3 separate regions of the Homo sapiens genome follow, and all the other regions are linked to region 1. Evidence: promoter capture Hi-C in human tissues and cell types (Jung and others, 2019). All regions are on one chromosome and are shown on one strand. The core of a region is centred on a gene start or on the middle of the fragment in contact, and the rest is flanking DNA. Distances in the headings are between cores, read along the strand shown. Region 1 holds the start of OSCP1 (organic solute carrier partner 1). Region 2 overlaps MTF1 (metal regulatory transcription factor 1). Region 3 overlaps MEAF6 (MYST/Esa1 associated factor 6).

Region 1 (2,986 bases), core at 196-2,695:
ACACCAGCCTGCGCGACAAGAGTGAAACTCCATCTCAAAAAAAAAAAAGTGATGTCTTCTGACATTTAGCTTAGCAGCCAGTGCAAGGTAGAAGAGAGAAAAGAACAGTGATACAGAGGAACATAGCAATGCAGACAGAAAAACAAATGAAGGGATGAATGTAAGAAAGGTGTTGGAGGAAAAAGCATAATATGATGACTGATAAAAGACCCTGGGAAACAGATTTGGAAGCCAAGGCCCAAGTTTCAAGTTTGAGTAGCTGGAGGGAAAGATAATTAGTAGGTTTTGGAAGTACTGAAATTTACAGAAATGGTTGTTCATCAGAGTAAAAATATACAGCAGATGGCAAAAAGTAATCCTGGAGCTTAAGATGGAGGTAAGGAAGGGAGTCGCTGCCCTCAAAGAGAAATGGTTGGGGCCGGGCGTGATAGCTCACGCCTGTAATCTCAGCACTTTGGGAGGCCCAGGCGGGCAGATCACCTGAGGTCAGGAGTTCCAGACCAGCCTGGCCAACATGGTGAAACCCCGTCTCTACTAAAAATACAAAAATTAGCCGGGCATGGTGGCGGGCGCCTGTAATCCCAGCTACTCGGGAGGCTGAGGCAGGAGAATCGCTTGAACCCTGAAGGCGGAAGTTGCAATGAGCCGAGATGGCGCCACTGCACTCCAGCCTGAGCGACAAGGGCAAAATCCGTCTCAAAAAAAAAAAAAAAAGAAAAAAGAAATGGTTGGGAGGCCTTCGGAACAGCGTCGAGGAGGGAACTTCCCAGAGCCCCCAGGCGCATCCTCTGGGAACTGGACACACGGGGACGGACGGGACTGGTTTGCTTCATGGAGTATGAAACCAGGAGGGGCTTCACTTCAAGTAAACTTTTGGGAGGCGATGCAAACGACTCAGGACTTCTGATCCTTCCCTCGTCTAAAAGAAAAGTCAGTTACCATTTTTATTGAGTGCTTTCGGGGCCTTTCCATGATCTGACTGATTCCTCTCAGCCGCCCTGTGATGTGAGTGCCAGCTCCATGTTACGTAAGAGGAAGCCAAGGCTCAAACCCTGCCCGAAGTCACACAGCAAGAAATCACGAGCCGTGATTCCAACCCAGGTCCGTCTGACCCGAGCCTGCTCTAATGCCGTTCTGCCTGGGCTTTCCTCTGTTATAGGAACCTGAGGCCCCGCGCCAGCGGCCGGGGTCCCAAGCGCCGGGCTGGCTGTGTCGAGACCACCCCCAGCCCTGGCCCGGCCCTCGCCCTTTCGAGGGAAACCTACTCTCAGAAGCACAGCTCCCCAGCCGCGCCCAACGCCGCGCCGGCCTCTGGCTCGGACCAATCCCCCCGGGACGGTCCACCACCCAGACCAATTAGCTCCCGTCTTCAGGGCACCTCCCACCAAACCGCCTTCTGATTGGCTCGCTCTTCCCGTCACGGCGTTGCCCCAGCAACCGGACTATTGGGACGCTGCGGCCTGGCCTTCAGGCCACTGGCTACCGAACCCCGGGGCTCTTCACCAGTCCAGCTCGTTTCCAGCACCATGTCGGTGCGGACGCTACCGCTGCTCTTCTTGAACTTGGGCGGGGAGATGCTTTACATCCTCGACCAACGGCTGCGGGCCCAGAACATCCCGGGAGACAAGGCCCGCAAAGGTGAGAGGCCCCCGGCCCGCTCAGCCAGACCCGCAGCCAGCAGCCCGGCCCTCTCATCATCGCCCTAACACCCACAGCCAGACCCGCACCCCTACACACTTCACTCTTATAACCAGGGACCTTTCTTACAAGCCACATCCATTTGGAGCCCCTCGGGAGTCAAATCCCCCCAAAAGCTTTTTTCACAGCAGAGGAACTTAATACTCCCAGTGGACACTAGGGTGCCTGACCTCCCTAATTTCCCCATCTCTTCAAATGGGAGAGGTGATTTCCCAGTCTCTCTTGTCAATCAGTGCCTTCCAAATGTAGGAGTCCCAGCTGCCCACCATCTAGTATCATACCCCTTGCTAGTCCAAGCATCCTCTTTACCCCCAAGGAACAGGTTCTGATTTTTTTTTTTTTTTTTTTTTTTTTTTTTTTTTGAGACAGGGTCTCGCTCTGTCGCCCAGGCTGGAGTGTGTGGCACGATCTCGGCTCACTGCAACCTCTGCCTCCTGGGTTCCAGCGATTCTCGTGCCTCAGCCTCCCAAGTAGCTGGGATTACAGGCATGCACCACCACACCCAGCTAATTTTTGTATTTTTAGTAGAGATGGGGTTTCACCATGTTTCCCAGGCTGGTCTTCAATTCCTGGACTCAAACGATCTGCCCCCCTCGGCCTCCCAAAGTGCTGGGATTATAGGCGTGAGCCACCGCGTCCAGCCCAGGTTCAGATTCTTAATTTCTTTATGGTAGTATCTTCCCACATAAGCTGGAGATTGGTCTTACTCATCTCAGAAGTATTTCTAGAAATTTGGTGTTCTAAAATAATATAGATAAATATGAAAAAAATAAGAAAGTTATAAATCTCCTCACAAGTGTTGGAGGGGAATACAATTGTGAAAATAATTATATGAGAGCTTCGAAAATGCAAAATCTGCCTCCCATGGACACCACACTAATCCCCAGAAAAATGACGACTCAGAACACTCTGCCACTCTGTTCCTTTTCCTCTTTTCCTCCCTTCTCGGCAAACAACTTGCTTATACCAAATTTCCTAGGATTAAGTATGAAGGAAATATTATATTTCAAAGTGGAGGAGGAAAAGTTGAAAAGGCAATTGACATGGCCGCCAATTAAAACATTCTCTCCATTAATCTTTGTATGCTCAATTGATGTTCAACATACATATTCAGATGCTAAGCATACATATTCAGATATTAACTATTGTGTGTGTGTGACTGAGTGCAAGTCCATGCATAAAGAGCTAAAAATAACTCCCTATAACATACCCCCTCCATTCATTCTGCACATTGCCGCCAATGAGCTTTCTAAAATGTGTATCTGTCCAAACTTGCCCCTGCCTAAAA
Region 2 (2,986 bases), core at 124-2,623, 1.4 Mb before region 1:
ATGGATGTGTCAGAGTTTCTATCCCTCCAGAGCCTGGACACCCCGTCCAATCTGATTCCCATTGAAGCACTACTGCAGGGGGAGGAGGAGATGGGCCTCACCAGCAGCTTCTCCAAGTGAAGGGCCCATGTGTGCTCACCTCTGGGAAAAGCGGGTGAGCAGGAGGCATGAGGTACAATGCCTGCCATCATGGGTCAGAAATTTGAAGGATGAAGAAATCTACTGTTTGAAATCCTCACCTTTCAGACGTATTTTCTTTATTCACATCCCAGGAGCATCCATTTTAAGGAACTATTCTTTGGAAAAAAACAAAAAACAAAAAAAACAACAAAAAAAGCTAAGTTATAAGTGAACTGTTTGGCTGCACTGTATGTCACTTTTGCTTGTTGTCATGTGAACTTGGAAACTAAGGTTACTCGTGTGCATAAAAATTCTAAATGAAAGGGTGTGGTTTCCATCAATCTGATGCTGCCCATCGCTTGCACTGGGGTCTTTGTGGATCGGGCAGGAGTTTTCAGTGTGTTGGGTGTTGCTCCTTCCTATGTGTCTTTTGAATCTGAGGCTGACATTTGCTTGGAAGGCCAGACCCTTGCTCCATCAGAGAGGGCAGTGGCAAAGGCCAGTGAGGCAGCTGTGAGTTGGACAGGGTTCAGGTGAGATGGTGTTGTCATTTGTGCTTAGTGTTGGTGGTGCTCAGGGTGGATAACACGGGTCGTTCTGCAGCCCGCTTCAGCACAAATAGGCAGCTTAAGGCCTGGCTCACAGGCTGTGGGGTTGATCTGGCTCTGCAGAGGCCCTAGGCAGCTTGTTGACTGCTGTCTGTTGATGACGTGTGTGCAAAGCAGGCTCTAGCAACATGATCACTGTCCTTGCCTTCCTGGTTCTTTCTCTCGGTTGGTTGCCAGGGCTTGCAGATCGCAGTGAATTTTCCTTGGGGAACATCGCTGTTTTGTCCTAGAGTGAACTTGTGGCTTATGGCCAGTGCTGTTTGGTGGTCTGCCTTCTTTTTAATGGTATTTTCTTCCTCAGAGCAGAAGGGCTGCATTTTGCTTATCAGAAGAAGGTGCAGATTTAAGGGAATTCATATGAGGTGGCATGTAATTGGCAGGCCAGGTGTCCTGGTTCCAGGTTCCAGCCAGGCTTTGGGTTGCCCCCTCCATCTCTGCCCCCCTCTGGATTTTGCATACAGCCTCATACAGTGCAAACAAGGATGTGACTTGCTCAGCTTAGTCATGTGATTTATTTAAAAAAAAAAAAAAAAGAAACACAAAACGATGATCTTCTACTCAGGGTATAGCAAAACAAAAAAATTCCCTTTCCACCAAAAAGCCTGAAATGTTGCAATAAGTTATCTCATTTGGAATGTTTCATTAAGTTGTGTTATAGGAAAAAATTGTGTGTGTGTGTTATAGAATTATATCCATATGTCTGCCTTTGGCTCCAAGTCATTGCCTCTTAAAATAAAAGATACAATCCATACTAGCATGAAAAGTTTCCCTCAACAGGCTATATTAACATAGTCATGAGTGCTGACCAAACTCACCGAGCTCAGAGGCCAGGCATGGCCTGAGGTGCAGAATAGGCCTCTGCCTCCCAAGAGCCCTTTCCTTGCCCTGAGCAAGGAGTGGTGTTCCACAAACAAGGCTGCTCTTCTAAGCCAACAGTGTCAGGCAGGAAGCAGCCATAATTTTGCCTTGCATTTTCATTCCCTAATGTAAAGGGATCTGCATTGGTCACTCTCCTGTTCTCTGAGCCATTGCTCAGGGCCAGCCAAGATATTATTGAGAACAGATAATTTACCTTGGAGCCAGAGGCCCTCCCTGCCTTTAGCAAGGATGTTCAGGGACAGACAAAGAGGGCAGTGGTGGTGAATGTTGTTACTGCCATGAGGAGAAATGGCAGTAAGAAATCTTAACTACAAGCAGCCAATTTCTCATTCCAGGACCCTAGCCAGAATAATTGACTTCTTTTTTTTTTTGAGACAGAGTTTTGCTTTTGTTGCCCTGGCTGGAGTGCAGTGGCGCAATCTTGGCTCACCGCAACCTCCACTTCCCAGGTTCAAGCAATTCTGCCTCAGCCTCCCGAGTAGCTGGGATTACAGGCATGCGCCACCACGCCTGGCTAATTTTGTATTTTTAGTAGAGACGGGGTTTCTCCATGTTGGTCAGGCTGGTCTCGAACTCCCAACGTCAGGTGATCCTCCCGCCTCAGTCTCCCAAAGTGCTGGGATTACAGGTGTGAGCCACCATGCCTGGTCTAGGGAATTGACTTCTTTTTGACCTTCTGCACTCCCTTCCCCAAAAGGATTGTGGCTTCTGTTGACCATTGACCTCAGCAGAAGTTGATAAGGCAGGAGGTTTCCAGTCCTCCTGGAAAACCAACTGCTGAGCATGAGTTGTCCTTGGCTGTCTCTGGGCCTCGCACCCATGGGAAGTTTTGAGGTAGGGCCCTTGCTGTTTACAACTTCTGAGAGAGTAGTGATGGGACCCCAAAGTAAGCTTGTATCAGAGGGCAGTAATGACCTTCCCATATCCCCATCCTGTGGTCACCTGGGATTTGGGTTCCCTGGGGCGGAAGTGGGAAATAGGAGCCCAGGGAAGGACATCTGAAGCACCCACAGTTTAAATAGCGACTCTTCTTGGTTAGCCAGGGCTGTGCTCATGTTGGGCCCTACCCAGGTCAGTGGCCTTTTCACTCTCAAAGATCGGGGGTGACGAAGCAGCATCTTAAACAGTGTTTAGGCTGACAGATTTTTCCAGTTGAAGAAGCTGAAGTATCTGCCTTTTGAGGGTGACTCTAGATTACAAGAGAGACTATCAGATCCAATCAGCTTTTGAAAAATCAGGAATGTGCTTAAAATGCCAGTGAGTGGTTGTGAAGATCAGGTTTATTTCCCAGGATAGGCAGTCTTTCTTTCCCTCCTTTTCCAGTTCTCTTTTCCTACCTGTCCTTCCATAAGCCTGGTCTCTAGTGCCGAGGACCTTGG
Region 3 (2,986 bases), core at 244-2,743, 1.0 Mb before region 1:
GGACTCAGAAGGCAGACCATTTTCAGATGTGAAATATTGTACATTATATTTGGAATAGAATCTTTTTTTAAATTTTTTTTTTGTGTGTGTGACAGGGTCTGGCTCTGTCACCCAGGCTAGAGTGCAATGGTGTGATCTTGGCTCACTGCAACCTCTGCCTCCCAGGCTCAAGCCGTCCTCCCACCTCAGACTCCTGGGTAGCTGAGACCACAGGCATGAGCCACCACACCTGGCTAATTTTTGTGTTTTTTGTAGAGACATGGTCTTAATTTGTTACCCAGGCTGGTCTCGAGCTCCTGACCTCAAGTGATCTGCCCGCCTGGGCCTCCCTAAGTGCTGGGATTATAGGCCTGAGCCACCACGCCTGGCCTGAAATACAATCTTTTTTTTTTTTTTTTTTTTTGAAACAGAGTTTCACTCTTGTCACCCAGGCTGGAGTGCAATGGCGCGATCTTGGCTCACTGCAACCTCCGCCTTCCAGGTTCAAGCGATTCTCCCACCTCAGCCTCCTGAGTAGCTGGAATTACAGGTGCCCACCACCATGTCTGGCCAATGTTTTGTATTTTTAGTAGAGACGGGGTTTCACTATGCTGGCCAGGCTGGTCTCGAACTCCTGACCTCGTGATCTCCCTGCCTCGGCTTCCCAAAGTGCTGGGATTACAGGTGTGAGCCACTGTGCCTGGCCTGAAATATAATCTTTAGCTATAGAGCAGTCCCCTAGTAGAGTTGTTTATGAGATTTTTTTTTTCCTTTAGGGTCAAACAACTGTTCTGCCGAGAGTAAGTTGGGACTTTTGTTTTTCTTTCTTTAGGACTATTAGAAGACACATTAGTGCAGAAGCTTCCAGGCTGTAGAGCCCTGCTTCCCTTCTCTGACCTCACAAAGATAAACATCCTTCACCTGAGTTCGTGGCCATCCACCTCTGCTCTCCCAGACCCAGTGCCTGTGACTTTGAGTAGTTTGTTCTAAATGTGGTGACAAACAAGTCATTTCTGTAAGACATTGGGTCTTACTTTATGTCATTTTTAGTAACAGAACTGCAGGAAGATGAAGACAATGTTGTAATCCCAGCAAGTTGCTAACTGTGCGTTTCTCCCTTCTTAGAATGAATGTCTCCCCCAAAACTGGCTGGCACCAGCTTCATCTGTGATACCCTTCAAGAAATGTTCTCTGGTTTTGTTTTATGCTGAAAGTAGAACACAAGTCACATTTCAGATGGAGGCTGTAAATATCTGGCATTTTCTTATATTGTTTTATGTTTTCTTGTTTTTCTCTTGTTGTTTTTATCTTATTTTCTTTGGGGTTTTTTTGTAATGCCTTTGTACAGCTCATACTTTCCTGCTGACATATCTGATCATCTCTTTCATGCAGTTGCCAATATTCATAACTGAAAATAATCTGGTTTATCATAAGTAAAATGGGAAACTTGCCTCTGTTTTTTGCAAGGGGAGGTAAAGAGTGTTTAGTAATTACCTATCTTAAATCTTTCTGAGTTGGTAGTAGATTCATGTTCAAGGAACAGGAAAAATGGAAAAACATAAGTTTAAATCAGTTCTTTTTAAATAACTTTTTATTCTTTTGTATAAATAAAATTTCACAGGCTTCAAATTCTCATGCTTTACTTTTAAACCCGAGATTGTTTTTTCACTTATTTATTCATATCATGCCTTATGGAAATTTCTTTTTCTGTATTTTCTCTCTTTGCTGGTATTCACCTGATTAAATATTGCTCTAAAAATCACCATGGCATATGGAAAGTCTCAAAATTATACCAAAAGTGATAACTTATGTCGTTCTTAAGTGGAGTGAAAGGATAGCATCAGTGAGAGCCAGTGTTGCCCACCAGGTCTCCCTTTCTTGGAGGGCTTGTTGGGGCTGAGGAATCTGCTAGTAATCGTTACCTGCCTCTAGTGCTGTGGTGAACTTGCGACAGGGTCTGGCTGCACATTGGAATCACCTGAGAAGCTTTAAAATACTCATGCCTGGATCCCATCCCTAGAGACTGGGGTACAGCCTAGTTATTGGGAATTTCTTTAAAAGAGTTCCTGGGATTCTGATAAGAAGCCAGGTTGAGAACCACTACATTAGAAGACTGAATGGTTTAATTTACATCCTATGTTATGATTGGTCTAAGGGATAAGATTTGGGGTCTAACCTTTCCTTTCACTCTAGTTAGTCATAGTCCTTGACTTATGCCTATATCTTTGTAAGAAATAGTATGTTTCATTTGTGATAGTATTGGTAGGGCTGAATATGGATGGCATCTACTGTAAAACAAGTCTACCTTGTCAGATGTGCAAAAGCTTTCACTCTTGTTCTCAAATAAACTTTTGTGGGTTTTTTTTTTTTTTTTTTTTTGACTCTGGCTATTTAGATCTTTGACTGTGTCTTTGGTAGCAGAACTCCAGTGTCAGGATTTTTAAGGAAATAGTTTCTTATATTTAGATTATTCCTTAAAAAAAAAAATCCTAGAAGCATTCTGTATTTTTTGTCTGTTGGTCTCCTTTGCTGGGAGGGAGGAGTGGGATGCCTACAGTTTCCTTCCTTTTGGGGAAAGCACACAGCAGACCTTAAAATATTTTTGACTCTTGGGCTGGGTGCGGTGGCTCACACCTGTAATCCCAGCACTTTGGGAGGCCGAAGCGGGCGGATCACGAGGTCAGGAGATCGAGACCATCCTGGCGAACACAGTGAAACCCCATCTCTACTAAAAATGCAAAAAATTAGCTGAGCGTGGTGGCGGGTGCCGGTAGTCCCAGCTACTCGGGAGGCTGAGGCAGGAGAATGGCATGAACCTGGGAGGCGGAGCTTACAGTGAGCTGAGATAGTGCCACTGCACTCCAGCCTGGGCGACAGAGCGAGACTCCATCTCAAAAAAAAAAAATATTTTTGACTCTTAACAGTTTGAGATTGCTAGAGATGGAATAGTACTGCTCTGTTGCGCCACTGCACTCCAGCAGCCTGGGCGACAGAGCGAGACTCTGTC

The links. The method cuts DNA at HindIII sites, captures the fragments that hold promoters and counts their contacts. A contact is called where the count stands out against the background at its distance.
Region 2: a fragment that was not itself captured here is called in contact with the fragment with the promoter of OSCP1 in region 1 in 1 of the 25 tissues and cell types used here (hippocampus).
Region 3: a contact is called between a fragment that was not itself captured here and the fragment with the promoter of OSCP1 in region 1, in 1 of the 25 tissues and cell types used here (hippocampus).

The regions. Positions count from the first base shown.
Region 1 is chr1:36,448,910-36,451,895 of GRCh38, reverse strand. OSCP1 (organic solute carrier partner 1) reads left to right here and starts at 1,445. Exons shown (of 10, transcript NM_145047.5): 1 at 1,445-1,638. The coding sequence starts at 1,527. LOC107984940 (a long non-coding RNA gene) reads right to left here. Exons shown (of 3, transcript XR_001737976.2): 3 at 2,331-2,438. RefSeq lists a silencer at 1,050-1,319. The HindIII fragment of the contact is 9,579 bases long and covers 1-2,986 here.
Region 2 is chr1:37,812,270-37,815,255 of GRCh38, reverse strand. It overlaps MTF1 (metal regulatory transcription factor 1), which reads left to right. Exons shown (of 11, transcript NM_005955.3): 11 at 1-2,986. The coding sequence ends at 120. Among named protein-coding and RNA genes, the nearest start is that of YRDC, 5.6 kb to the right of the region's middle. The HindIII fragment of the contact is 4,615 bases long and covers 1-2,986 here.
Region 3 is chr1:37,491,933-37,494,918 of GRCh38, reverse strand. MEAF6 (MYST/Esa1 associated factor 6) reads left to right here. Exons shown (of 7, transcript NM_001270875.3): 7 at 812-2,986. The coding sequence ends at 820. Among named protein-coding and RNA genes, the nearest start is that of MIR5581, 7.6 kb to the left of the region's middle. The HindIII fragment of the contact is 5,415 bases long and covers 1-2,986 here.